Linked DNA regions of Homo sapiens: all the other regions are linked to region 4. Evidence: promoter capture Hi-C in 16 types of primary human blood cells and fetal thymus (Javierre and others, 2016). All regions are on one chromosome and are shown on one strand. The core of a region is centred on a gene start or on the middle of the fragment in contact, and the rest is flanking DNA. Distances in the headings are between cores, read along the strand shown.

Region 1 (7,061 bases), core at 4,519-7,018, 940 kb before region 4:
TTTTTAATAGAGACGGGGTTTCACCATCTTGGCCAGGCAGGTCTTGAACTCCTGACCTCATGATCCACCCGCCCTCGGCCTCCCAAAGTGCTGGGATTACGGATGTGAGCCACTGCGGCTGTTTTTTTTTTTTTTTTTGAGACAGTCTCACTCTGTCACCCAAATGAAAGTGCAATGGTGTGATCTTGGCTCAACTGCATCCTTCGTCTCCTGGGTTTAAGTGATTCTCCTGCCTCAGCCTCCCATGTAGCTGGGATTGCAGGCATGCACCACCATACCCAGATAATTTTTGTATTTTTTGGTAGAGACGTGGTTTCACCATTTTGGCAAGGCTGGTCTCGAACTCCCGACCTCAGGTGATCTGCCCGCCTCCACCTCCCAAAGCGCTGGAATTACAGGAGTGAGCCACTGCACCCAGCCAACCATAGTTTTTATACAAAGTATAATCAACGTTGGTGTTTGTTTATTGAGATGGAGTCCCGCTCCGTTGCCCACGCTGGAGGGCAGTGGCGTGATCTTGCCTCACTGCAGCCTCTGCCTCCTGGGTTCAAGCGATTCTCCTGCCTCAGCCTCCCGAGTATCTGGGGATTACAGGCACGTGTCATCACACCGAGCTAATTTTTGTATTTTTAGTAGAGACAGGGTTTCACCATGTTGGCCAGGCTGGTCTTGAACTCCCGACCTCAGGTGATCCACCTGCCTCGGCTTCCCAAAATGCTGAGATTACAGGCGTGAGTCACCGTGCCCGTCCAACATTGGTGTTTACATAGAATGAGAATATAAAGGTAACATGTCACCTTATCCATAACACCTTTCCCGAGCTAGGGATGTTGGGTGTGTTTCTGCAGTCCCAGCCACTCAGGAGGCTGAGGTGGGAGGATTACTTGAGCCCAGGAGTTTTGAAGCTCTCGTGACCTATGATCACCCCACTACACTCCAGCCTGGGCAACAGACTCTGTCTCTTTATTTAAAAACAACAGGCTGGGCGCGGTGGCTCACGCCTGTAATCCCAACACTTTGGGAGGCCGAGGTGGGCAGATCACAAGGTCAGGAGTTCGAGACCAGCCTGGCCAATATGGCGAAACCCCGTCTCTACTAAAAATACAAAAATTAGCCAGGCATGGTGGTGGGCGCCTGTAGTCCCAGCTACTTGGGAGGCTGAGGCTGGAGAATCGCTTGAACCCAGGAGGCGGAGGTTGCAGTGAGCTGAGATGGCGCCACTGCACTCCAGCGTGGGCAACAGTGTTAGACTCCATCTCAAAAAAAAAAAAAAAAGACCTTTCCTGACTACCCTGTTTAGAATAACAACTCCTGCTCCAGCACTACCAGTCCCACTTTCACTACTTTATTTTTCCTGTAGTATTTTCACCATCTGAGATATAGCTATAGATACAGATATAGATATATTTTTTTAATCTGTTACTTAACCCTACTAGAATGTAAGCTATTTAAGCTCTGTGAAGGCAGGAATTTTACATTTTACTCACTGCTTTTCCTTAGCACAATGTCTGACACATAGTAGGTATTCATAAATCTTTGTTGAAGCAATGCAAAAAAATTAATGGAGAATAGTAAAAGAAGGACTTGGATGCCCATGACCCAGCTTAAGAAATTATAGCACACATACATATACAGCAACTACATGGTTGAAGCCCCCATGTACCCTTCCCCTTTGCATTTCCCCGCTTTTCCTCCCCAGAAATAACCTCAGTTTTCTTGTCAGCCCTTTAAAAGAAAGCTGTCTTTATTCTCTTCACCTTAATATGCCTGTTCACTTTTTTCAATAACTTTTATTGTGTGTTCCAATTTCACAGGTAATATATCCAAATCAGAAAACATATAAGCACGAAGGGAAAAAATAGGCCATAATCCTGCTTTCCCCTCTTGTTTTAATGCATCCTTATTAGCTGTAGAACCTTAAGGAAGCCTCTTAACCATATAAGGAAACAAAGTTCTCCAGGTGTTCACTGTGGCCTTAGTTTCCGCAGTTTCTCCTCTGTAAATTGGGCATGATAATAATAGAACCTACCTCATAGGATTCTGTCAAGGATTAAGCAAAGGTCCACATAAAGAGCTCAGCAGCAGCGCCTGCCCAGGACATAGTAAGCACATAAATGATGGTGATCAGATGGCCTTTCACATAACTTCATTATTCTTTTTTGAGTACACACCTCATGCCCTATGTGATTTGTAAATGACTGTGGGGATTGATACAGGAACGCACAGTCCTTTTTGGGAGTTTCCCCACTAAACCAGTAGGCTTACAGTCAAGGTAGAACGTACATTTGCATGGGGCTGCTGTGAACTGACTTTGCTGTACACCTTCTCTAGGTGAAGAACATCATTTACCATGCAGTGAAAGATGCGGTTGGCACCCTCAAGGCTCATGAATCCAAACTGGCAAGGTCCTAGGCATGGAGAAACTCCAAGCTCCTCTGTGAAGCAGGTCTTTCACTCACAACACTTAACAGGGAACGGCAGGGCTCTTTGCTGGAGCAGAGGCCCTTCACCCAGAGCCAGTGTGGTCAGTATTCCAAACTCTCCAGCCACTCTCTTCTACGCTGCCTCAACACTGAAGGTTGACACAGGAAAGTCGTACTGTTCACACACACAGTTTGAGACTCCAAGCCAAGAGTGCCACATCCCTATCCTGTGGCCTTTTGGAAATCCAAATTGCCTGAACATGGCGGGGCTTTCCTGCACATTCTCCTGATTTGAGATTCACGGGCACACCTTTCTTTTCTTTTCCTCTTGTGCCTAGTTAAGTGGAAATGTGTTTGGAGATAGGGGAAATCACATAACTGGTACAAGTATGGGGTAATTGCTTAAACATGCCTGGTGGAAGTCTGATAGCGTCTCTGCACGTGACCTCTGACAAAGCCCATCCCAGGAGACGGGGTGAAGCTATTCCCCACACTCTCCTGTGAACACTGGAGTCTTGCAAGACCCAGGGAGAACCCACTGCTTTTCCCAGGAGGCTCCAGGATTAGGAAATGTGTGTATTTAGTGAAAAATAGGTTTGTAGTGAAATAGTTACTATTTCATGAAAGTAGATATTTTTAGAATTTTTGAAATACCACAGTTGTTTTCCTGGATTATAAGGAAAGGCACATTACATTTAGTCTTCCTTTCGATATAAAACTCTTTGAAGAAATATGATTTTTAGAAATCAGCTACCCATTATAGCACAAAATCAGCCAAAGCAGAATTTTTAAAAATTGGCTTTTTTAGGATTCTTTTTCTCCCCCTCCCATCTTAGTCTTACCTTGAGGGAACAGTCATATGAGAAGGAACTTTGTCACATCTAAGCTGTGGTGTGTTCCCCATGTGTGTGTACAACACTGGTGACTCCAGGAACCATTTTCACCTATTACCAGTGTTCCCTGGGGACTCCTCTTAATGTTTCCAAATGGGAAGGACAGTTGATTTCCAACATGAGGTTTTTTGTTTTTTATCCAGAAATATTTTCAGCAAAACTTTCCAACTGAGTGGAGTCTGATTAAGGATTTATTTGAAAATGGTGGGATTCATTGGCCCATAGGTACATTGGAAAATGTATATCTCTCCAGCTGTACTGTAGTGCCCTGCAGGCTGTTTATATGTTCACAGTTACTTTTTTTTTTTTTTTTAAATAAAAGTCATTTAATGTAGAATACTTTTAATTTCACTTTCTGTATTTTAATTTTGTTGAAGGGCTGATTGGGATTTCCATGTTCTTATTAAAAATCTAACAAATCTGTTTGGAGTGGACTAAATTATTCGTGTACCAACCCTTCTAAAATCAACATCAGATTGGGAGTTGGGTTGGAGGTGGGGGATTCATTTCCAGGTCTTCATGACTGTGCTACACCCAGATATTTTTCTTTGCTTGTTGAGACTGTGCCATGTTAGAAAAAAGGAAAGTGCCAGGGTGAGGTCAGTATGGTTTGGGGAATTGGGGGTAAGGGGAAGGGGCCACATGAATTAGAGGGTAGAAAGAGAGACATGTTTCCCCATACTTTATGCTTTGTGAATGGAGTGGGAAAGTTGGGGTCCTCCCTTCCTGTGGCAGAGTCTGGGGGGAAGGGTCATGGTGTGTGGCCTCAGCAAAGTTGGACAGTCTGTGGTGGGATTCTTAAGCAGGCAGCCTGGCTGCCTACATGAAACGTGTGGCCATAGATCCACCTTAGAGATGGTGGGAGACACTCATGTGGGATTTATCAAGCAGTAATTAAAGTGTTTCATTGTGGGGTGATAACAGACTGCATTCCAATTAGGAGATGTTTTCTGGAGAGGAAGTTGTAAAGAATAGCAAGAGGGGTTATCAGAGGCTGCTTTTCTGGAACGTTTTGGGAAACATCTTCCAAAGTGTTTGAACCTGGAAATATAATTTACCAGGTTAGAAATAGACCATTGTGTTGTTCAGGGATACTGAGCTTGAATAAGACCATGACTCTTTGAAATACACAGTTCTGAATGTGTCCTTTCAGCCCAGATGGGCACAGGTTGATGCTGTGGTCACCCGAAGGATTACAACTCAACATAAAGGGTAGAGGAATGCAGAAGCTCTAAAATGGGACAGGAAAGGAGAGCAATAGGGCTGGGGGTGTTGGTGGATGGTTGGAGGTTGGTTGCTTTCCTGAAGATCAGGAGGCAGGCTAGCCTACATTCTGGATATAAATGTCTTTAGAATCAGGACATTCACTGCCACTAGTGCTTGCTGATGGGGGTGGAACTGGAGCCCCAGGACCCTCTCGCAGCCCCTCTGTTTGAAAAGAAGGTTGACCCTTTGTTGTCAGTAACCACATTGAGAGCATAAAGCTCTGTTCCGCTGCAAAGCTTAGGAGCTGACAACCTAAAAAAGCAGACCAGCAGCCCGGTGGCTCACACCAGTGATCCCAGCACTTTGGGAGGCTGAGGCGGGTGGATCGCTTGAGCTCAGGAGTTGGAGATCAGCCTGGGCAATATTGCAAAACCCCATCTTGGCAAAAAAAAACAAAAAACAAAAAAACAGGAATTAGCTGGTGGTGTTTTGGGCCTGTAGTCCCAGCTACTCGGGAGGCTGAGGCGGGAGGATCATTCAAGCCCAGGAGGTGTGCTGAGATTGTGCCACTGCACTCCAGCCTGAGCGACAGAGTGAGGACCTGTCTCAAAAAAACAAAACATCATCTGGTCAGGGGAGATCCTCTTTCAACGGGGTGAGAAGGAGTGGGGTGGACAGGTGCGGCTGTACCTGTGACTCAGGAGCTCAGGTGGATGTCTTCAGGGCCTGTAATGAGGAGAGTTTGCTAGTCAGCAGTTGGGGGATGTAACCTGTTTAAAGTAGGCTTCCTGGGGTCATCTTAGCAGCATGACTTGGTGGCTTTGTGACTCTCAACAGATTATTGAGCCTTAAGCTTCTCATTCCCTTATCTTCAAAATGAGGGCTTTTATAGCGCCTGCCTTATAGGGTGGTCAAGAGGATTCACTGGCAACGCAGTGAAGCTCTTAGCACAGGGGCTGGCACACAGTAAGCGCCTGGTGTGGGCAGGGCAGGAGGTGGGCAGGGGTCGATTTCAGGATGTAACCATGGAGACCTCCACGACAACAGCCTAGGGCTTGAAACCCAAGAAAGATGAACAAGCGATTCGAGGAAGGCAGGGCACTGAGGGTCGGAGGCGCATGCCCGGCCACAGCAGGTGCCGGGGCGGGGGCGCGCCGCCGCCGCCGCGGCGGCCTCCCGGCCTCCCCTTTAAGAGCCGCCACCGCCCACGGCCCGCCGCTGCGGCAGGGACCTCCCCTTTAACGGCGGCGCTGGGCGCTCCGCTGCCCCCGCGGCGGCTGCTGCAGCGGCTGCTGCTGCTACTGCGGCTCCTGCTGCCGCCGCCGCCGCCGCTCGGCCTCAGGCAGCTGCATCCTCGGCCGGGCCGGGTCCCCGCCCCGCGCCGCGCCCGGCCCCGCCATGGTGTCCTGGATCATCTCTCGCCTGGTGGTGTGAGTGCGGCGGCGGCGGGGGGTGATGCGGGCTGTGATGGAGGGCGGGGGTGTTAAAGCCCGGGTGGACTTCTCCGAAGCTTCGTGCAGCAGAGTCACCTAAAGGCGCTGCGTCCTTATTTGGGGCCCCCAGAGACATGGAGATGTGGCACCCAGGACTGGAGGGGGGAATATTAGGGGAGCGTGGCAGGCCTGGCTTCCCAGGGACCTCACCCACATTCTTTATTAATAACCTCTTTTATTTCTACCGTCCTTGCTCCTGCGCCCATCCTAGAGGCTGAGCAGCACGGCTTGATTTAAAAGGGGAGGCAGGCGCGTCCCCTCCCCCACCTAGCAGGTCTGGGCTGGAGGAGATCCTCAGACCCGGGCCCTGTCCCTCTGGGGGAGGTAACAGGGTGATGGAAGAGAGTGGAGCAAGGCAGGGCCTCATCATCATTCCGCAGCTCAGAGCCATCACCAGGCCCCTTGGTCTCTCCCTTCCACTCACTGTCAGGAGACTGGGGACGAGGGCATATGCCCTTAGGCCCCCTAGGGAGGAAGTCTGGGTATCGGGAAGCAGAAATGCTCGGAGGACAAAGTGTGAGAGGTAACTGGGAGAGGGGATGTGTGTGCTCAGCCTGGGATTGTGGACCCCGCTGGGGGAGGACGCTCCGTGGCCTTCATTCCAGGCTGCCAGCCACACTGTGGAGCTGTGTCTCTGGCACCTCCCCGGGCCCCAGGAGGGAACACACACCATTCCCCACGAGCCCAGACTTTGTCCTTGAGGATTCTGCTCCGCACTCCACTTGCACCAGCCGGTTTGGAAGTATCCCTCCTGTCCATGTGGAAACAGGCGACAGCCACACATTGTCAAGGGGCTGAGCCTGACAGGGGCTCCTCGTGGTTCTCGGAGCTATCCCCTGCCCTAATGAGGACACTGCCCCTCGGCCTCCACCGTTGGGGACTGACACCGGCAGCCCCACCCTGCTCCCTTCTTCCCATTCGGTACAGCCGGGCCGGCCAAGTGCTTCTGTCCTGGTTTACTCTAGACTCCTTCTCTTCCCCCACCCATCCCAGGGGGAATGGAGGGGCCTCACGCCTCCATGTGGCCTTCAGGGTGGCTGCTTCTC
Region 2 (7,081 bases), core at 34-2,533, 920 kb before region 4:
TCCGGGAGGAGGAGCGAGGAGGCGGCGGAAGAGCCCGCGCGGCCGGAGTCCGGGGCTGGGAGTGGAGAGGGAACCTCCAGGGGGCAGCACCGAGCCGCCAAGCCGGTCCTCTCTTCGCGCCCAGCCCGGGGTCCCCAGACAGCCCATAGGGAAGCCCCTCTTTCGGATTCCCGCAGTGTGGGCCGGCCCTCCACCTGGACTGGATAAAGGGGGGAAAGTGACCCCTCACCACAAGGACCATTATCTCCTGGTGAGAACAAGAATCAGGCCTCTCTTGGGGCAATCAGCTTCCCCACTTCGGTCCCCCAAAGGTGGGCTCTTTGCCGGCGGGGACTAGGGAACAGCCTTTCGGTTCCGGGGGAGCACAGGGGACCCCAGGCACCAGCAGCCCCATCCCACCGACAGGTGGCAGAGGCAAGGCAGCTCACTGCTATACAGTGTCCCAAGAACCAAGTGGCCGTGACTTCCTATCCTCAATTTCCCAGCGACACCCGGAAAGACACCGTGCCATAGATCGAGGCCCGGGGTCAAGGCCCCGCCTCTCCTGGGCGGCCCCTGCCCAGGCGGGCCCAGCCGCTCCTCCCCCGCACTCCCGGTTCGCTCTCACGGTCCCTGAGGTGGGCGGGCGGGCCCTGGATGACAGCGATAGAACCCCGGCCCGACTCGCCCTCGCCCCCGCTCTGGGTCTGGGCTTCCCCAGCCTAGTTCACGCCTAGGAGCCGCCTGAGCAGCCGCGCGCCCAGCGCCACACGCCACGAGCCCTCCCCGCCTGGGCGTCCCCGGATCCCGCGAGCGCTCGGGCTCCCGGCTTGGAACCAGGGAGGAGGGAGGGAGCGAGGGAGCAACCAGCTGCGACCCGGAAATGCCATATAAGGAGCAGGAAGGATCCCCCGCCGGAACAACCCTTATTTGGGCAGCACCTTATTTGGAGTGGCCCGATATGGCCCGGCCGCTTCCGGCTCTGGGAGGAGGGAAGAAGGCGGAGGGAGGGGCAACGCGGGAACTCCGGAGCTGCGCGGGTCCCGGAGGCCCCGGCGGCGGCTAGAGCTCTAGGCTTCCCCGAAGCCTGGGCGCCTGGGATGCGGGCGCGGGCGCGGGCCCTAGGGTGCAGGATGGAGGTGCCGGGCGCTGTCGGATGGGGGGCTTCACGTCACTCCGGGTCCTCCCGGCCGGTCCTGCCATATTAGGGCTTCCTGCTTCCCATATATGGCCATGTACGTCACGACGGAGGCGGACCCGTGCCGTTCCAGACCCTTCAAATAGAGGCGGATCCGGGGAGTCGCGAGAGATCCCAGCGCGCAGAACTTGGGGAGCCGCCGCCGCCATCCGCCGCCGCAGCCAGCTTCCGCCGCCGCAGGACCGGCCCCTGCCCCAGCCTCCGCAGCCGCGGCGCGTCCACGCCCGCCCGCGCCCAGGGCGAGTCGGGGTCGCCGCCTGCACGCTTCTCAGTGTTCCCCGCGCCCCGCATGTAACCCGGCCAGGCCCCCGCAACTGTGTCCCCTGCAGCTCCAGCCCCGGGCTGCACCCCCCCGCCCCGACACCAGCTCTCCAGCCTGCTCGTCCAGGATGGCCGCGGCCAAGGCCGAGATGCAGCTGATGTCCCCGCTGCAGATCTCTGACCCGTTCGGATCCTTTCCTCACTCGCCCACCATGGACAACTACCCTAAGCTGGAGGAGATGATGCTGCTGAGCAACGGGGCTCCCCAGTTCCTCGGCGCCGCCGGGGCCCCAGAGGGCAGCGGCAGCAACAGCAGCAGCAGCAGCAGCGGGGGCGGTGGAGGCGGCGGGGGCGGCAGCAACAGCAGCAGCAGCAGCAGCACCTTCAACCCTCAGGCGGACACGGGCGAGCAGCCCTACGAGCACCTGACCGCAGGTAAGCAGTGGCCTACGCCGAGGGGGAACCCTTTCGCCACCATCCTGGCGTCCTGTCCTTCACCGCAGGAGTGCTCCTGGATCTTAGAATGAGAGCCGGGTTTCCCTTTCATTCCTCGCATCCCCAGAGTCATGTGTTAGAGGGATGCCAAGGAACCCCACACAGCCCACCCCCTGCCCTCATCCCTAGCGGAGCGCAGAGGACCGAGCTTTTGTTTTGGATGGAGAGCTCTGGAGCTGCGTGGGTGGGTGGAGGGGGAGGGCTTGTTTTGATGAGCGGGGCTGCGCCCCCCACCTCCAGTAAGACTTGCCTTGCCTTGCTTGCCGCCTGTCCCCAAGGAAGGACCGTGATCCTTGGCCGTGGATGTCCCGGCAGCCCGGGTTTGGGGGCGCGCACTAGCCGCGGCCATGGGGGTGCTGGCGGGAATCCCTCGCCCGCACAGCCGCCGCTGCGGAGCGCTGCGAGCTGCAGTGGAGGGGGATTCTCCGTATTTGCGTCAGCTGTTGTTGAAATGGGCTCTGCCACTGGTGCGGGTCCAGGAACATTGCAATGTGCTGCTATCAATTATTAACTACCTCGGGAGTCAATGGTAGCCGGCCCGGTCTCTTGCCTGGCAGCTCGGGTCGTCCTCGTCCTCCAGTGATTGCTTTCCAGTAACCAGGCCTCCCGCTTCTCTCTCTCCTGCCAGAGTCTTTTCCTGACATCTCTCTGAACAACGAGAAGGTGCTGGTGGAGACCAGTTACCCCAGCCAAACCACTCGACTGCCCCCCATCACCTATACTGGCCGCTTTTCCCTGGAGCCTGCACCCAACAGTGGCAACACCTTGTGGCCCGAGCCCCTCTTCAGCTTGGTCAGTGGCCTAGTGAGCATGACCAACCCACCGGCCTCCTCGTCCTCAGCACCATCTCCAGCGGCCTCCTCCGCCTCCGCCTCCCAGAGCCCACCCCTGAGCTGCGCAGTGCCATCCAACGACAGCAGTCCCATTTACTCAGCGGCACCCACCTTCCCCACGCCGAACACTGACATTTTCCCTGAGCCACAAAGCCAGGCCTTCCCGGGCTCGGCAGGGACAGCGCTCCAGTACCCGCCTCCTGCCTACCCTGCCGCCAAGGGTGGCTTCCAGGTTCCCATGATCCCCGACTACCTGTTTCCACAGCAGCAGGGGGATCTGGGCCTGGGCACCCCAGACCAGAAGCCCTTCCAGGGCCTGGAGAGCCGCACCCAGCAGCCTTCGCTAACCCCTCTGTCTACTATTAAGGCCTTTGCCACTCAGTCGGGCTCCCAGGACCTGAAGGCCCTCAATACCAGCTACCAGTCCCAGCTCATCAAACCCAGCCGCATGCGCAAGTACCCCAACCGGCCCAGCAAGACGCCCCCCCACGAACGCCCTTACGCTTGCCCAGTGGAGTCCTGTGATCGCCGCTTCTCCCGCTCCGACGAGCTCACCCGCCACATCCGCATCCACACAGGCCAGAAGCCCTTCCAGTGCCGCATCTGCATGCGCAACTTCAGCCGCAGCGACCACCTCACCACCCACATCCGCACCCACACAGGCGAAAAGCCCTTCGCCTGCGACATCTGTGGAAGAAAGTTTGCCAGGAGCGATGAACGCAAGAGGCATACCAAGATCCACTTGCGGCAGAAGGACAAGAAAGCAGACAAAAGTGTTGTGGCCTCTTCGGCCACCTCCTCTCTCTCTTCCTACCCGTCCCCGGTTGCTACCTCTTACCCGTCCCCGGTTACTACCTCTTATCCATCCCCGGCCACCACCTCATACCCATCCCCTGTGCCCACCTCCTTCTCCTCTCCCGGCTCCTCGACCTACCCATCCCCTGTGCACAGTGGCTTCCCCTCCCCGTCGGTGGCCACCACGTACTCCTCTGTTCCCCCTGCTTTCCCGGCCCAGGTCAGCAGCTTCCCTTCCTCAGCTGTCACCAACTCCTTCAGCGCCTCCACAGGGCTTTCGGACATGACAGCAACCTTTTCTCCCAGGACAATTGAAATTTGCTAAAGGGAAAGGGGAAAGAAAGGGAAAAGGGAGAAAAAGAAACACAAGAGACTTAAAGGACAGGAGGAGGAGATGGCCATAGGAGAGGAGGGTTCCTCTTAGGTCAGATGGAGGTTCTCAGAGCCAAGTCCTCCCTCTCTACTGGAGTGGAAGGTCTATTGGCCAACAATCCTTTCTGCCCACTTCCCCTTCCCCAATTACTATTCCCTTTGACTTCAGCTGCCTGAAACAGCCATGTCCAAGTTCTTCACCTCTATCCAAAGAACTTGATTTGCATGGATTTTGGATAAATCATTTCAGTATCATCTCCATCATATGCCTGACCCCTTGCTCCCTTCAATGCTAGAAAATCGAGTTGGCAAAATGGGGTTTGGGCCCCTCAGAGCCCTGCCCTGCACCCTTGTACAGTGTCTGTGCCATGGATTTCGTTTTTCTTGGGGTACTCTTGATGTGAAGATAATTTGCATATTCTATTGTATTATTTGGAGTTAGGTCCTCACTTGGGGGAAAAAAAAAAAAGAAAAGCCAAGCAAACCAATGGTGATCCTCTATTTTGTGATGATGCTGTGACAATAAGTTTGAACCTTTTTTTTTGAAACAGCAGTCCCAGTATTCTCAGAGCATGTGTCAGAGTGTTGTTCCGTTAACCTTTTTGTAAATACTGCTTGACCGTACTCTCACATGTGGCAAAATATGGTTTGGTTTTTCTTTTTTTTTTTTTTTGAAAGTGTTTTTTCTTCGTCCTTTTGGTTTAAAAAGTTTCACGTCTTGGTGCCTTTTGTGTGATGCGCCTTGCTGATGGCTTGACATGTGCAATTGTGAGGGACATGCTCACCTCTAGCCTTAAGGGGGGCAGGGAGTGATGATTTGGGGGAGGCTTTGGGAGCAAAATAAGGAAGAGGGCTGAGCTGAGCTTCGGTTCTCCAGAATGTAAGAAAACAAAATCTAAAACAAAATCTGAACTCTCAAAAGTCTATTTTTTTAACTGAAAATGTAAATTTATAAATATATTCAGGAGTTGGAATGTTGTAGTTACCTACTGAGTAGGCGGCGATTTTTGTATGTTATGAACATGCAGTTCATTATTTTGTGGTTCTATTTTACTTTGTACTTGTGTTTGCTTAAACAAAGTGACTGTTTGGCTTATAAACACATTGAATGCGCTTTATTGCCCATGGGATATGTGGTGTATATCCTTCCAAAAAATTAAAACGAAAATAAAGTAGCTGCGATTGGGTATGTGTTTCCTGGGTTAGGGGAAGGACTCTGCCCTATTGAGGGCTGTGAGGTTTTCTGAAGACTTGGCCTTTAGAGATACAAGGATCCTCCAGCCAGAGTCAGGCCCACTGTGTGAAACTGGAGTTCGTTATTTATGAGGACTGAGTATGGGTCTTCAAATAGGGTCTCGGTCTATCCACCCAGGCTGGAGTGCAGTAGTGTAATCACAGTTCACTGCAGCTTTGGTGTCTCAGGCTCAAGTGATCCTCCCACCTCAGCCTCCTGAGTAGCTGGGACTATAGGCACGTGCCACCACACTCGGTTAATGTTTATAGAGACAGGGTTTTGCCATGTTGCCCAGGCTGGAGTTCTTCTTGATAATGGGCCTGTTCCTCTTCAGTCTGTTGGGCTGAAGCTTTACCTTGGTTAGCTAAAGCCAAGAAAGGCAAGAGTTAGGGCTGGGACATGTGTGGCCAAAGGCAGTGTTACTCTCCTGGCATCAAATGTTGGGCCAGTCCCGTCCCCCACCTCTACTCAGGGTTGGAAAACCCATGATCTTGGGAATCCCTGCCATGTGCAGTTAGAGGAGGTAAGAAGTAGGCACAAGGCCTTTAGGGGAACAGTAACAATGCTGGGGCCGACTCAGCCTCTCCCTCCCATTCCCCAGGTCCCCAGCAACTTGAGGGCATCAAAGAAGCCTAGACGAGGTAAAGGCCAGTTCTCAAGCCAAGAATCCTTCCAGGAAGAAATTCTTATTACTTGCCAGCTGGAACTGCCATCCTTGGCAGCTTCGTGGGACAAAGGATAGAGTGGGCAGAAGCCTGGCCTGGTGTCTAAAGTTCCCATCCGGGCCAAATCTGTTCCCATTGTGTAGGAGGCCTGAGGTTCTAGGTTCTTTTGGGCCCAGTCCCCTGAGGGACCACTCCCACTGCTGGGGCAATCCCTGTGGGCACGTGAGCATCTGCCTACTCTGTGAGAGGCCTTGACCTGGCCACAGCAGACACCATGGGAGGAATGTGGATTGTTGGTTGGGGAGACGGACATAAGACACAAATCACAACATGGTATTGTGTTATGCAATATGGGCAAGAATGGAGCTCTTTGGGAGCACAGTGAAGGGCACCCAACCCACCTGGGGGTTTAGGAAAGGTGGAAAAATTGAGTTAGGAAGCATAAGCAGGAGTCAACCTGATTGACTTGGTTTGTGGGTGAGGCAGGGAGGACACTGGCCAAGTCTACTCAGCAGTGTGGATGAGACGGATTACTGAGTGGAAGCACTACCTCCAACCCCAATATCTAAGTCTTTTGTGAATTGGTCAGACTCCACGATTCACTGGGTGGATGGGTACAATAGATTTGATGTACTGGAATTCCCAACCCTTGGCTCCTCTCCCAACTTCTGACCCCTAAAATCAGAGGAACAATGAGGTATCCCCTTGACCTGGTATGGTTATCAGGCCCTGAGTGAAGTGAAAGTCTAATCTGCTTCTACCTCTTCTCCTTCCTCTAAGGGTCTCCCAGGTGGTTCTCAACCCACACTTTCTGGAGCCAGAGGGATTCCAATAAACCCCTGACATTGGCCCAATTCTTTCTTGTGCAGTCTAGCCTTCCCTGACCAACACTGTTGACCTCTGCCCTTTCCCATGGCACCAGACTCCTCAGCCTTGAGGAGGGGGAACAGGACACCTTCTCTAGTAAGGGGCACATCCCTGTGAGCCTCCTGGCAAAATTGCCAGGTCCTGATGGGACAATATTTGTATTGGCGCACCTCTTCCCAGCCCCACCTACCCCTCCCCATCTCACTCTAGGCCCAGGAACACAAGTCCATACCTGTTACACATTCTTAAGAGTTTCTCACTCCAGACTCCCAAGAAATAAAACATGGCAAGAATAAAATATGAAAGAAGGAGCATTGAGACTCTATTTCTTTAAAGCAGAGGGTCTTGTAAGTTACAAGTGCATCAGAATGAGATTCCCAGG
Region 3 (7,296 bases), core at 2,419-4,918, 870 kb before region 4:
GGCAACATGGTGAAAACGCCTCTCTACAAAAAATTCAAAAATTAGTTGGGCGTGGTGGTGTATGCCTGTAGTCCCAGCTACCAGAGAGGCTGAGGCAAGAGGATCACTTGAGCCCAGGAGGTGGAGGTTGCAGCGAGCCGAGATCATGCCACTGCACTCCAGCTTGGGCAACAGAGCAAGACCTTGTCTCAAAAAAAAAAAAAAAAAAAAAAAAAAAAAAAGCTGCAGCTCCTTCCCTGAAATCAGATTCGTATGTGGCAGATAGATGACCACCTCCCACAGCACCCCCAATTAGTATAAGGTTTGGTTTCCCAAAGCTCACCCTCTACACAGCCAGTACTCTAACACACGGATTTACGCTTGCACGTATCATCAAACCAAGAAAATAATCACATACCTCTTTGTCTGTGAAATGAGATTTATCCTTTTCTTGCTCTGGAGTTAGATAGAGAATTTTCTCCTCTGTAGTATTAGGAGGAAAAAATGTGTTAACCTGGCTCTCATATACTAATCTGTGTAAGCTCCATAAGATGAGGTTAGATGAGAAAAGGGCTCAGGGACTCAATCTCTCAACATTTTTTCCATAAACATGTTAGCATACACTGAGTGTCTACTAGGTACAATGCTTCAACCATAAGGAACATCAGAGATGTTCAAGATATAGTCCTGGTCCTCAGCAGATGTAACAATCTTAAGCAGACGTTAAACAGTTCAAGCAGAAAAATCTATGCAGGAATGTGCTACAGACTGAAGGACTGGGGAACAATGGGTAGATCTACCTTCTGATTGCTCCTGAAATCAGCCATCCCTCCCAAATCTCCACCCCAGGCTTCCTGGCTCAGTAACAAATAGCAACCTTATTTTCTAATTCTCATACCTTCTGTGCCTTGGCAATGAAGAACATATCTCATTATATCCAGATTTTCATAGACTATTAGAATTTCTACAGCTCCCATTTCCAAAGCCTTTAGTGTATCTTCAACGCCAAAACAGTACTTGCCCGTGTCCTGGCTGATTTCATCAAAGTATCGTCCTACGATTAGGGATCAGTCAACAGGATATATATTAAAGTTTCCCTAGTAGATACAAACACACCTATTCGACCTAATGACTAAAGAAGATAAAAAATAATGCTTTTACTGAGGCAAAAGAGTTAATAAAAATACTAAATATTCCTTTTTACATTTTTGGTACCTTGTCTCATACATACAATCACGTACATACACACACACACATACACACACACACACACACACACACACACACGAAAACATTTCACAGAATAAGTAGTTGCATTTCACCGATACCTATTAATTTCTTCTCTTGAATGAATTTCACGTTGGAGAGGACTTCAGTAGATAACTCAATAGCTTGGTTGAATCCATTTTCACCACCATAGGATATATCAACTAATTTTAAAACTTTTGATTGTAACCTCTAACACACAAAAAAAATATTATTAGTACTTACTGGTACTTATTTAAAATATTATTAAAACACCTTTACTCAAACCCACTAACTCTTAATGGTATGCAAAGCTCAGCATTATGATCACTGAAGTCTAAATATGGGGAAGGAGCCCAATTTAATCAAAAGCTGCTCTTAAAGTGAACAGCACTGCCAATTATATCACACATTTTATTAGACCTACTATAGGACAACTCATTAAGTGCAAACAAAAATAAGTTATTGTGGAGGAAAGGGGGGACCACTGGCTCCTGCCAAATAAGGTAGTAGAGGTTAAGACGGGCTGGGGAGGGTGGCTCACACCTATAATCCCAGCACTTTGGGAAGCTAGGAGAGGCAGACAGCTTGAGTCCAGGAATTCTGAGACCAGCCTAGGCAACATGGTGAAACCCTGTCTCTACCAAAAAGTACAAAAATTAGTTGGGCATGGTGACACATCCCTGTAGTCCCAGCTACTTGGGAGGCTGAGCTGGGAGGATCACTTAAGCCTGGGAGATCGAGGCTGCAGTGAGCCATGATTGCCACTGCACTCCAGCCTAGGCAAGATAGCCAGACCCAGTCTCAAAAAAAAAAAAAAAAAAAAAAAAAAAAATATATATATATATATATATATATATATATATATTTTTTTTTTTTTTTAAAGGCAATTTCTTTGGTGGACCTTCTACCATAAGGCTACTTCCTCCAGATCTTGAAAGTGTATTATGGCTGAGCCCATGTTATAAAATGTGCTTTAAATGCTTTAGGCTGAATCAGCTGTCATACTGCTGAGAGCTTTGCTGCTATGTATCTCCAAGAATAAATCAGAAAAAGAAAATAAGGAACAGGTTTTAGTTTCTTTGAAATCAAACTCCATTCTACAGCCAATTCTGACAACCCAACTAAACAAGGAACCTCCACAGGATCCATAAGAAGCCCACCTAAAAATGGTTGATTTCAGAAGAGAAGGGGTTCAGAAAAGCACAGGGGAATGTTTCCTGATAAACATCTGTAAACCTGCTGTTTAACTCAGAGGCAAGTTTTTAACCCAAGGAATTTTAAAAAGATGTGTCTGTTCCAGTGCTCACACAGAGGACTCACCTACTCCTACCTAGGGTCTTACATAATAAAGCATCTACTTCTTACTTACCTGATCAAACATATCAGATTGACTTAGTTCAGTTTTAAAGTCAGCGGATCCAGCTAAAACTAGACCAGCCACATTCACTTTGTCCCCAGAAATAAACAGCTGCACAGCAGTCTCTGCTACTTTCCGAACATAGTTATGTCGCTTTTCCATTCTTAAACGGGCAAAACGCAAGGCTGACTGACCTCCTCTACCTTTGACACAAAAGTAGCAAGAGAAAAAGGCAATTATTAAGAACTACAAGATGTCTTCAAATTAAAAATAAAATAATCATGTCATCATCTAAGAAAAGGACAAAGAAAAATCACCATTCCCTTAACTAAACGTTCAGCATAAACTGCTACTTGTTTTCAGAGAGCGACTACTAAGTCTATGTCAAGAGAGGAGCTGTAAGTACCAATGAGGCACCAGTCATTACAGGAGGCTTCTCTCCCCATCATCTGGATTCACTCCCCTCACATCATACTGTTTTCTCTCTCTCTCTTTTTTGAGACAGAGTCTCACTCTGTCGCCCAGACTGGAGTGCAGTGGCGCAATCTTGGCTCAATGCAACCTCCGTCTCCCGGGTTCAAGCAATTCTCCTGCCTCAGCCTCACAAGTAGCTGGGATTACAGGCGCCCGTCACATTTTTGTATTTTTAGTAGAGACAGGGCCGGGCTGGTCTCGAACTTCTGACTTCGTGATCCACCCGGCTCGGCCTCCCAAAGTGCTGGGATTACAGGCGTGAGCCACCGCACCCGGCCCACCATACTGTTTTCTTATTGCTAGACACAAAGTAAGTGGGTTCATGTTCTCCTCCTGTATTACCGTGTTTCTTTGGGAGATCCACAGTGAATTTGTGCAGGACTTCTCTTGTGTTTCCTTGGAGTGTGCCAAAAAGTGCACCACTACCATCTATTACAATGAATCCAAACTTGCTATCATCTGAAAGTAGTGCTGTAAGAGCCTGAAAAGCAAACACAAGTACCACACGGTGAATCCCAAAGCTTTGCTAAGGTCAAAAAAACTCTGAAAGGATATATACAAGCCCTTTCACTCCACTCACCATGCTATTAGCACTGTGGGAAAACCTTCTACGGAATAATTTATAGACTTCAGTTATAAACATGTAACTCTTATGGACAAATTTGAACCCAATAAGGAAATAACGAATGATATCTATGTGAAGCTTTTCAACACATTTGACATGGGCATGTAAATATAAAACCAGAAAGATATCTGTATGCCCATGTTTATAGCAATATTACATACAGCAGTTAATACTACTCAATCTCAAAAAGGAAGAAAATTTTGAAACACACTACAACAGGGATGAAACTTGAATACATGCTAAGTGAAATAACCCTGTCAAAAAAGGACAAATACTGTATGACTCCACTTATATGAGGTTCCTGGAGTAATCAAAATCAGAGACAAAAAGTCAAATGGTGGTTGCCAGGGGCTGGAAAAAAGGGGGAACAAGGAATTATTGCTCAATGGATACAGTTTCAGTTTTATAATATAGAGTTCTAAGCTGGGTATGATGGCTCACACATGTAATCCCAGCACTATGGGAGGCTGTGGCAGGCAGATGGCTTGAGCTCAGGAGTTTGAGACTGGCCTGGGCAACATAGCGAAACACTGTCTCTACAAAAAAATACAAAAATTAGGTGGCTGTGGTGACACGTGCCTGTAGTCCCTACCAGCTACTTGGAAAGGCTTTAGTCTGGGAGGTGTAGGTTGCAGTGAGCCAAGATTGTGCCAGTGTACTCCAGCCTGGGTGATCCAGAGACCTTGTCTCAAAAAACAAAAAAACTTTAACTTGTTCCTTTTTTTTTTTTTTTTGAGACAGGGTCTCACTTTGCTGGCCAGGCTGGAGTGCAGTAGCCATCATAGCTCACTGCAGCCTCGAAGTCTTGGACTCAAATGATCCTTCTGCCTTAGCCTCCCAAAGTGCCGGGGTTACAGGCATGAGCCAGCATGTCTTTAAAGGTATTGCAGCTAATGATTCTGAGTTTTATGAGGAAAACCTTCCTTCTATGTTAACTTTATATCCCTTTATGCCTTCCCAAAGAGAAAATATTGAAACAGTCCTGGGACATACATAGATAAGAGTTCTCACAGTGGAATCGGAATACTACACACTTAGTTGATCTCTAATTGCCAGGGGACAATCTCTTTGGAAGTAAGAAATTGTTACCCATTCCATTTTATTTTTATAAACTGATCCTCCTCTTTGGCCTCCCAAAGTGCTGGGATTACATAGGTGTGAGCCACAACACCTGGCCTTACCATTCCATTTTAAGAAAATAGCCCCTTCAATAATTGACTAGAAAGCAGATGGATCAACTAAGAATCCATCTTTAACAAACCATGCTAGATAGTTGGCATTAAGACATGAATATTGTGGCCGGGCGTGGTGGCTCATGCCTGCAATGGCACTTTGAGAGGCCAAGGTGGGTGGATCACTCGAGGTCAGGAGTTTCAGACCAGCCTAGCCAACATGGTGAAATCTCATCTACTAAAAATACAAAAATTAGTTGGGCGTGGTGGTGCACACTTGTAATCCCAGCTACTCAGGAGGCTGAGGCAGGACAATCACTTGAATTCGGGAGGTGGAAGTTGCAAGGAGCCGAGATCGTGCCATTGCACTCCAGCCTGGGCAACAGAGCAAAACTCAATCTCAGAAAAAAGAAAAAGAAAAAGAAAAAAGACATGAATATGAATATTGCACGTTAATAATATAGCCTTATCAAAATGACCCGTTAGGTAGATTGAAGTTTTTAATAAATCTGCTTATCAGGGAATAGGCATATCCCTTATTAGAATATATAATTACCCTGATAAACAGGATATAACCCTCTCAGTTAAAGCTAAAATGTACAAAGTTAGCAAGATTAAACAGTATCTTAGAAAAGGAGTTAAGGTTTGGAAAAAAGCCAACAAGGCTAACTCAGTAAGTGAGCAAAAGCCAGACAACATGGGTACCTGGCACTGTTTAAATCAACAAGATTCAAAATCGGCTTTCATCCAACCAGATACAGGTAAGTGGTTTCAGTGGCTGAGAGGCTCCCTGAAAAACCCTCTGCTGTAAGTAGAGTGTGGTAGTGAAGAGAAAAACAGTCTGGATTGTCTATGCAGTCGACCAAGATCCAACTATAAATGGACTTCCCATCAAGTTAGCAAAAATCATCCACTGTAAACTGTCGACAAATGTCAGTTCTAATTCCACTGTAGAGGTTTTTCCCTAGGTTGATGAAAGGCAAGAGAATGAACTAAGGAGCCAGCTGTGAATTCTTGATTGTTCTACTGTTGACTGATTTAGGTCACTCTAATGAGGTTTCCTTTCCACTGTTCAAGTTCATCCTATGGCAGCTTTGTCACTCAAAAGTTTCAGGGGAAAGGGGGGAAAATGAGTTCTTACAGTTCTGCTACTAAAAATTTTACAATTGTTATGTGAAAACTGAGTGCAATAACTCAAAGAGTATAACTGGACTGCTTGTAACACAATGGATATACGCTTGAGGAAATGGGTACCCTATTTTCCATAGTGTGATAGCTCACATTGCATGCCTGTATCAAAACATCTCATGTACCCCATATACACCTACTATGTACCCACAAAAATCAAAACACACACACACACACACACTTTGGGAGGCTGAAGCGAGCAGATCACTTGAGGCCAGGAGTTTGGGACAGGCCTGGCCAACATGGCAAAACTCTGTCTCTACTAAAAAAACACAAAAAATTAGCCAGGCATGGTGGTGCACACCTGTAATCCCAGTTATTCAGGAGGCTTGAGGCACAAGAATCGCTTGAACCATGGAGATGGAGGTTGCAGTGGGCCAAGATTGCACCACTGCACTCTAGCCTGGGCGACAGTGTGAGACTCTGTCTCAAAACATGCTGAATGACTAGTGTCATAATAAATGTAAATTGCCTTACTTTTTGAAAACAGACAGCTTTGTAAAATGGTACAACGGTTTGGAAAACAGTCTAGCAACTTCTTAAAAAGTTAAACATAATTACTATATAACCTACACGATTCCACAAATCTAAGAAACATGAAAATGTATGGTCACATAGAAACTTGTCCATGAATGTTCACAGCAGCATTATTCAGAACAGCCAAACAGTGCAAACCACTCAAATGTAAAACTGATGAAACGAGAAGCTATATAAAATATGAAATATGGCATATAGGTATACAATGGAATACTACTTGGTAATCAAAAGGGATGAAATGTACTGATGAATGCTACCACATGGAACCTTAAAAGTATAAAGTAAAAGAAGCCAGTCACAAAAGGCCACAAACTATATGATTCCATTATATAAAATGTCCAGGCTGGGCGGGGTTGCTCATGCCTGTAATCCTAGTACTTTGGGAGGCTAAGGTGGGTGGATCACGAGGTCAGGAGTCTGAGACCAGCCTGACCAATGTGTTTAAACACCATCTCTACTAAAAATACAAAAAAATTAGCTGGGTGTGGTGGCATGTGCCTGCAATCCCAGCTACTCAGGAGGCTGAGACAGGAGAATCCCTTGAATCTGGGAGGCGGAGCTTGCAGTGAGCCGAGATCATACCACTGCACTCCAGCCTGGGAGACAGAGCGAGACTCCGTCTAAAAAAAAAATAAAAAAATAAAAATAAAAAAATAAAAATAAAAGAAGTACAGCACAAGCATATCTATGGAAAGAAAATATAGTGGTTGCCTAGA
Region 4 (7,257 bases), core at 3,064-5,563:
CAATGACGGTGGTTCCCTTTGGACTCCACCATCTTCTCAGCTACTCCCAGCAAAGACAGAGGGGTGATGAGAGGGCACCCCCATCGCACAAACAAGGAGAATGAGGTCTGGAGCGTGTTCCCGACTTGCCTAAGCCTACCCCCTGGGCCTCCACCCCGTTCCTGTGTGTGCTTCCTGGGTGGCGCCTGAGGAGATCAGATACTGAGGAGGGCAGGTAGGCTACCTGTTGATAGCATGTACTGGAGGGGGTGGTGCACCAGCCAGGCGGGCACAGGCGTAGTAATCTCCGATGGACTCAATGATGCCTGCCAGAGTGGCGCTGAACATTCCCAGGACAGCAGCCGCAGTCACCGTGGGCAGGCCCCACTGACCTGTGCTCGGAGGGAGACAGGATGGTGGCTACAGTGAGGAGACTGTGATGGTTAGGAATAGACAGGGCAGTGCTGGAAGGAGCAAGAGCAGATCAGGAGACCTCAGGCTGGGATGGGAGCTATACAGTTGTGGGAGCTTATTTGAGTCACTCAGAGCCAGGAAGTGGGACTGAAGCTTTGTCTAAGTAAAACACCACTCTGCTGGGCGCACTATAAATGTGCGGCTAATGCTAGGTGTGTCACCTGCTGGATTGGGGTCACCAGGAGTCTGTCTCATAGGTGGTCTCAGTTGGGGGCAGAGGGGCCCAAGGGGTGTTGCTCACAGGGGTAGGGGATGCGGATCCAGGGTGCAATAGCCATGATGTCACCACGGGCATCGGTTCGTGCCTGGAAGCCATAGGCTTTTGGGTCTGTGGGCAGCACGTCTGTCAAGGTCAGGACATAGCAGAGCAGCCACACGGTCATGATGGCCAGCATGATCTGAAGGAGGGGGGTGAGGGGGCACTGAAGGCACTGGAGGTCTCTGTCCAGGCTAACCTGCTCCCACCTCAGCCCAAGCCCTGGCCATAGTCCCAGCCCCAGCCGCCTGCCAGGTCCTCACAGGAAACATTTTGAAGATCTGGATGCGGAGGAGAGTGAGGCCCTTGCCCCAGCGGTAGACAGGCAGCAGGAAGGTGAGGTTGCGCAGGTACTGGGAGAAGAGGATGATCAGGAGAATGGAGCTGGGGGCAGAGGCACAATCAGGAAGTGGATGGGAGGCCAGGCTGGGGCCAGGAGCCGGGAAGAAGGACCAAGGACATGAAGAGGGTAGGGTGCTGGGGCTGGGCAGGGATCAGGCCTGGTGCCTGCTCACCAAGCTGAGATGCCCCAGTGGGAGCCAGCTCGGTCGCCAGCAGCTTGGAAGACAGAAAGGCCAATGAGGGAGACAGTGGGGGTGACTGTGAGAGGCCCAATGTAGTTGAGCAGGGCCCCAGGCAGCCCCAGCAGGCCAATCACCACCTCCACCACGCTGGACACCATGATTGCACCCTGGACCTGGAAGGGCAAACATCAGCCGTAAGTCACCATGTAAAGGTCATGACCTGGCTGCTGCTAGCAGGAACAAAGCTCCTGGACCACCTCCTCAAATCCCCAAACTCAGCGGCCACCCTCACTCCCATATAGCCCCTCCTCAGGACCCGGCCTCTTCTATGCTTACATGCAAACCCACCTCCCGTATCCGTGGGTGCCAAATATGAGAGGTGTTCAGGGGCAGACTCCAGTTACCGTAGATCTCCTCTGGGGGTAGAGTCAGGGATACACACACGGACCAGGTACAGAGACAGAGAGGGAGAGAAGATGCTGCCATGGCTGCACCCTGGTGTTGACCCGGGACAGTTGCTCAGACCTCCAGGTCTCTGGGCCTCCCCTTTTCCCCAGTGCAGACCCCAGAAGTGTACCCACCTTCCGGGGGGCATTTCCATCTCTCCAGAGCCAGTATGGCTTTGGCTGGAACCAGAAATGCAAAGGCACTGGCCTGGAACAGCGGCAGCCTGGAGGAGAGGCACAAAGCAACAGGGGTGGGGAGGGGCGGGTGGGGAGGAGGGATAAAGATGCGGGGAGAGATCAGGAAGGGAGAGCACAGAGAGAGTGACAGAGACACAAGGGACAAGGGCAGATGGAAATCGTTGAGGCCCCAGGGAAGACCATCTCTAACATTTTGGCTGCCCAAGGAAGAAAACAAATGGAGCCCCCAGCTCAAAACCTGCCCCCTTCCCACCACCAGCTCCTGCACTGTGAGGAGGGGGCACCTGCCCGGAAGTGGACACCTCAGTTCCCGCATCCAGGTTTCTCTCACAATCTTCCCCTGTCCCCCGCTGCTCAAACAGCTCAAATGCCACCCAGGCCTAGGGCTGTGCACTCGGGAGCGTGGGGCCCTGGGAGGGTGGGCTGTCGAAGAGGCTGGCACCAACCCTGGGAGCTAGCTCAGGGCTGCCATCTGGGCAATATTCAGAATGGGGTTTAAGAGGGGAGAGCCGGCTAGGCTTGGTGGCTCACGCCTGTAATCCCAGCACTTTGGGAGGCCAAGGTGGGCAGATACAAATACAAAATTAGCCGGGCATGGTGGCGCATGCCTGTAATCCCAGCTACTCAGGAGGCTAAGGTGGGAGAATCGCTTGAACGCGGGAGAATCGCTTGAACCCGGGAGGTGGTGGTTGTGGTGAGCCGAGATCACGCCACCGCAATCCAGCCTAGGCAACAAGAGCAAAACTCCGTCTCCAAAAAAAAAAAAAAAAAAAAAAAAAGAGGGGAGAGCCAGCGAGGGTACAATCCCTTAAACTTGCAGATGCCTGGTCTTTGAAGTGTGCCTAGATCAAGATTCCCAGGGTTGGGGCCACGCTGCCCAGCTCTAAGGCTGGCCTGGGATAGGAGAAGCAGGTGGAGGCAGAAAGCGGCTTTTTTGTCTCACCAGTGTCCTCTGGGAGCCCACCTGCTCCTGCTGTGTGGATCACAGTGGAGGGGTGGCGGGGGACGGGTTGGGGGGCTGGGCGGCTCACCGGATGCCCACGGTGGTCTGGATGAGAGTGGTGATGCCCACGCACGTGAAGATGGTGCCGATGAGCTGACTAACCATGTGCTGGTCGTGGCCCACACACAGCGCCTCAGCCAGCAGGAAGGGCACGGCGATGGTACCACTGAAGCATGTCAGGTAGTGCTGGGCAGAGGGAGACAGCAGAGTGCATGAGGCAGGACCCCAGAGCTCCAGGGAGAGGGGACAACCTAGTGTCCTCATGCCTGCCTCAGCGGGCCTGGAACCGGCTGCCTGCCCAGGACTGGCAGTCCCCACAAGGGATTCCCAGAGAGCTACTGCTGACCACTCTGGGGGTCACTAATTTCCACTCAAGATATTCCTGCGGCTTCCGTGGAGTCGGCTCTGCTCCCTGTCACCAACACCCCACCTGGCAAGCGTCACACTCCCCCAGGGAGTTCATCTTCTTTCAGGATTCAGCCTCTTCCCGACTCCTGCTTGCTGACAGCCACTGTGCTGACCTCAGGTTTTTCTTCCTGTTACCCAAGATACTCCCTGCTGGCCAGGGAGGGGCTGGAGTCCCCGGGGAGTGTGCAGAGTGAGGGCGGGGAGGCCCTGGGGGACCCACCTGGAAGCCCAGCAGGATGCACAGGTACCAAGGTGGCACGTCCTCGATCTTGTACAACATGTCAAACTTAGGCTCTGTGGGTAGCGGGGTCGAGGGGTCCCTGGTGGTTTCATGCTGGAGGCAGCAGAGATAAGTAGCTTAGGGTGAAGTGATGGGGACAGGCAAAATCCATTCTGCCCCAGAATCAATCAGGCAGCCCAAGTGGCTTGTCAGCAACTGAGAGCGGGGTTCCCGCCCTCCCCAACAGTCCATCCACCCGGGTGCCACTTGGCCTGGCCACAGTTTTCTCCCACTTTGCATTGCTTCCCGCAGGGATGAGTCTACTGTGCCAGCTTCTAGAGCCCTCAGGACCTGCCATTTTAGCCAGGGAAGTGGACCCTTAAGTCAGAAGTCTTGGAGACCACAGGAGAGGGGGCCAAGAGGGCTCAAGACTGTGGACAAGTCCAATCCGGTCCCACCTCTGCCCCCTGGAGATCCTTGGGGTGTCACTGGCCGGGAGATTAGGCCTCTCCTGAACCCCAACCTGGAGTCAGCCAGTCCCAAAGCTGCAGGCTCCTTCACCCCCACCTCCACCCATCCCCCAGTTGCCACATTCAATTTGGGACAGTCACTCTTATCAAGTTCATCAGAACGTTTATCTCTGGCCTCCAGGAAGAAGGCCTGCACAGGCCCTCCAGCCCCCCACCCCCCCTGCCCCCCCTAGCCCCCACCCCCAGCCCCCAGCACCTGTGTCCGGCCCTCGAGGTCCTCCTGGGCCCTCATCTTTGGGGCACAGGTTTGAGCAGTTCCTGAGGAGAAGAGGGGATGACTTGACAAAGGCCAAGGAGGAGGACTTTACTCCACATATCAGGCATTGTTTGAAGTAAATCTGTAACCAGATGCCCAGCTCTGGATTGCGAAAGGGGGGCCCGGGCAGAGGTAATGTATTAACTCTCACTAGGACAGTAAAAGCCACCCAAGCCTCTGCCACATGTGCCCTTCCCTGCCCACATCTGCGCCTGGGCGCTGGACCTGTTCTTGTTTCCCAAGAGAGGGCCAGAGTCGAGGGGGTGAGGACCAGAAGTTTACCAAGCCCCAGGTGAGCGGAGAAAGAGGGAGTGGAAACAGGCACTTATTATGTAACCCCCTGTATGAGGCCCTTCCCCACTGATTAATAACTAGTTCATCATTATCATCATCATCATAGTCATTCTCGTTATTGAGGAATGGCCTTGGCCTTGTGCCAAGAAACATGGATCTGCACTGTCCCAAGTAACCCCTGTGCTGGGCGGTATTAACCCCTTTAACAGCGAAGGAAACAGATTCAGTAGATGTGATTTGACCCAAGCCATGCAGATAGCAAGTTTGCAGAAACCAATCCTAAAATTCAGGTTGGTCTGAGCTGCCTTGCCCTCACCACCCTGCACCCCTCAGGGTCCCTGAGGCAGGCAGCAGATGGGCCTCTGCAGGCAGAGCTGCCTAGGCTGGCCCAGCCGGGTCTGCACTCTGTGTCAGGGCACAGATCCCTTTCCCCTCCCAGCCACATAATTTCTGGGACCCAGTGCAAAGTAAGAATGTGAGGCCTTTATTCCAAAAGTATAAAGAATTTAAAGATAGCAGGAGCATTAGATGGAGCGTGGGGCCTTTCTATGCACCAAGCCCTGTGTGACTGCCCATCACCTAGCCCAGGAAGGCAGTCCTATGCCCAGCCTGTCTCCCCTCCTGGCAGGCCCAGCCCAGCCTGGCCCTAGGGCCTGAGATGGCAGAGGGGGACATGGGGAGGGGCCCTAAGAACTCAGGCTCCTCAGCTGGTGAGGGCTGGGCCTGAGGTCCCCATTCTGTTCCCCTCTGGGCTGCCCCAGCCCCAGCACTCTAGAGCCCACCTACTTCTGGGTCGCTGTGCCCATGGCCAGGCCCTGCCTGAAGGGCCAAGGGGCAGCACCGCTCTCCAGCTGGGCAGCAGCTTCATGCCACAGCACTGAGTCCGCCCGCCTGCCGGTGTCCACACTGTTCCTCTGTCCGCCTGTCCTCTCCTCTCCCTCTTGGCTACTGCTCCCAATTTCCAAAGTTGCTGGACCAGTTTGAAGCCTCTGCAACTCCCCAGCACTTTTCTCTCCAACTTCTCCTCCCAGAACTCCCCAGGGTGCTGTGGAGACCAAGCCCGACCCCCTGCAGATACGGCTCCATGGACACTCAATTCAACCCAAACCACACAACACGCATAGAGAACAAGGTGGAGAACACGGTCCCAGATCCACAGTAGCATGAAGGGGCCCACACACCCAGAGCTGATGCAGCCTCTCTAATCACCCCACAGAAACACAGGTCCACGTCATGGGTGCCCGGCTCCACACCCTGTCCTGAAAGCTTAGTGGGTTTCTTGGGCCCTGACTTTCCTCCTGGTGTCTAGGGTTTCTCTCCTGAGTGAAGGCCACGGATGGTGGGGCTTCAGGCAGGTCCTGGAACAGGTGAAGGATGGAGGGGGCTGAGTGCAGCTCCCAGGGAAGCTGGAGTGGCCAGGGCCTGCCCCAGGCACCTCCATTCCCCCAGCAGCCCGCCTCTCCGGTCCCCTAAGTCTGAATCCCCTCCCAGCCCTACTACTACTCAGCCAGGGACTTGGCCCAAACCCCTTCTGTTGTCTAAGTTTCGGTTTCTGCATCTGTCAAAGGGGGATTAGATTGTCTTCCTGCACATGGCTCTCGTGCAAAATAAAAATATTTCTAAAAATGAGGGTTAGAATGTTCTGTCTCTCTCCCAGGGCTTGGCCAGATCAGAGACACTCACAAACGAAACTGAAAGTTCTGGTGCCACCGATCTCCAGTTCCCAGACCTAGGTGGGGTCCAGGGCTTCTTTACTAAGGAAAAGCCCCAGCCAGAAGAATTTCCAGAGAAAGCAGGACTGAGAACCAAAATGTTGAATCTGGCTGGTCAGAAACCCAGGGCCCATCCATACCAGCTGGGGTCAAAGGCAGAGTGTGGAAAATGAACAGCCATTGGGTGTAGACCCAGTGAGACGTGTGTTCTCGGAGGGGTGCAGATAGCATGGAGTGGCTGGAATAGGTGTGCCACAAGGTGGCCTGCGTGCACAGTTTTCCTTGGTTCTCTTTTCTCATGAAGGCTCTGAAGACCTGGGATGTCACTGAAACCACCTTTGCAAAATTATGACTGAGACAGTGAAAGAGATCTAACTTAATCAGTTCCATCTTGCTTCTAACCTCCAAGTTGTCTTTCTTCATTCCTGAGTGTAGGCTGAACTAACCTTGGGAGAAACTTAGTTTTTAGTTTATAGTCTAAAACAAAGACAATAACAGCCCTTTCTCAAAGCAGACCTCCTTCTTGCCTGAGGACTAGATTGCCTTTGTAGGATGGAGCAACATTAGCCACAAGATGAGAAATTTTGGTTTAGGAGTCATGCAGCTAGAGGTTACAAGATTCTGACCCTCTCTAAACTGCTCCTAAGATCAGTGCTTGAGATACTTTGCAGACCCTGCACTTGATAGATCAGCTGGCATCACCCAGATCCATAAATTGGCTCGTTGGGACTTGTGGCCTCCACCTAGGAACTGACTCAAGGCAAGGAGACAGCTTCAACTCCCTATGATTTCAGTCCTGACCAATCAGCACTCCTGGCTCACTGGCTTCCCCGCCATCCACCAAGTTGTCCTTAAAAACTCTGCTCCCTGAATGCTTGGGGAGACTGATTTGAGTAATAGTAAAACGCTGGTCTCCTGCACAGCCAGCTCTGCGTTAATTAGTCTTTATTGCAATTC

Evidence for each region. Contacts are between HindIII fragments. The CHiCAGO score rates a contact against its expected background, and 5 or more counts as called.
Region 1: the fragment with the promoter of REEP2 here is called in contact with the fragment with the promoter of SLC23A1 in region 4 in 4 of 17 cell types (monocytes, fetal thymus, activated CD4 T cells and 1 more); the score reaches 6.6 in monocytes.
Region 2: a contact is called between the fragment with the promoter of EGR1 here and the fragment with the promoter of SLC23A1 in region 4, in 4 of 17 cell types (fetal thymus, activated CD4 T cells, monocytes and 1 more). The highest score is 7.6, in fetal thymus.
Region 3: a fragment that was not itself captured here is called in contact with the fragment with the promoter of SLC23A1 in region 4 in 1 of 17 cell types (naive CD8 T cells); the score reaches 5.7 in naive CD8 T cells.

The regions. Positions count from the first base shown.
Region 1 is chr5:138,433,289-138,440,349 of GRCh38, forward strand. REEP2 (receptor accessory protein 2) reads left to right here and starts at 5,769. Exons shown (of 8, transcript NM_001271803.2): 1 at 5,769-5,952. The coding sequence starts at 5,921. It overlaps KDM3B (lysine demethylase 3B), which reads left to right. Exons shown (of 24, transcript NM_016604.4): 24 at 2,332-3,739. The coding sequence ends at 2,412. RefSeq lists a silencer at 5,597-6,016 and an enhancer at 6,402-6,935. The HindIII fragment of the contact is 657 bases long and covers 5,374-6,030 here.
Region 2 is chr5:138,464,196-138,471,276 of GRCh38, forward strand. It overlaps EGR1 (early growth response 1), which reads left to right and starts at 1,284. Exons shown (of 2, transcript NM_001964.3): 1 at 1,284-1,873; 2 at 2,562-5,108. The coding sequence starts at 1,567. The coding sequence ends at 3,886. RefSeq lists silencers at 1-157, 478-877, 888-1,237, 1,328-1,537, 5,285-5,579 and enhancers at 70-1,269, 342-1,182, 1,183-2,022. The HindIII fragment of the contact is 6,642 bases long and covers 1-5,514 here.
Region 3 is chr5:138,510,168-138,517,463 of GRCh38, forward strand. ETF1 (eukaryotic translation termination factor 1) reads right to left here. Exons shown (of 11, transcript NM_004730.4): 5 at 3,401-3,539; 6 at 2,597-2,787; 7 at 1,308-1,437; 8 at 878-1,033; 9 at 398-462. Among named protein-coding and RNA genes, the nearest start is that of ETF1, 29 kb to the right of the region's middle. The HindIII fragment of the contact is 182 bases long and covers 3,578-3,759 here.
Region 4 is chr5:139,378,984-139,386,240 of GRCh38, forward strand. It overlaps SLC23A1 (solute carrier family 23 member 1), which reads right to left and starts at 4,314. Exons shown (of 15, transcript NM_005847.5): 1 at 4,235-4,314; 2 at 3,509-3,622; 3 at 2,909-3,066; 4 at 1,815-1,903; 5 at 1,582-1,649; 6 at 1,225-1,406; 7 at 973-1,093; 8 at 695-851; 9 at 224-371. The coding sequence starts at 4,270. RefSeq lists enhancers at 1,859-2,799, 3,275-3,324, 4,925-4,994, 5,015-5,184, 5,565-5,734 and a silencer at 3,615-3,674. The HindIII fragment of the contact is 5,308 bases long and covers 545-5,852 here.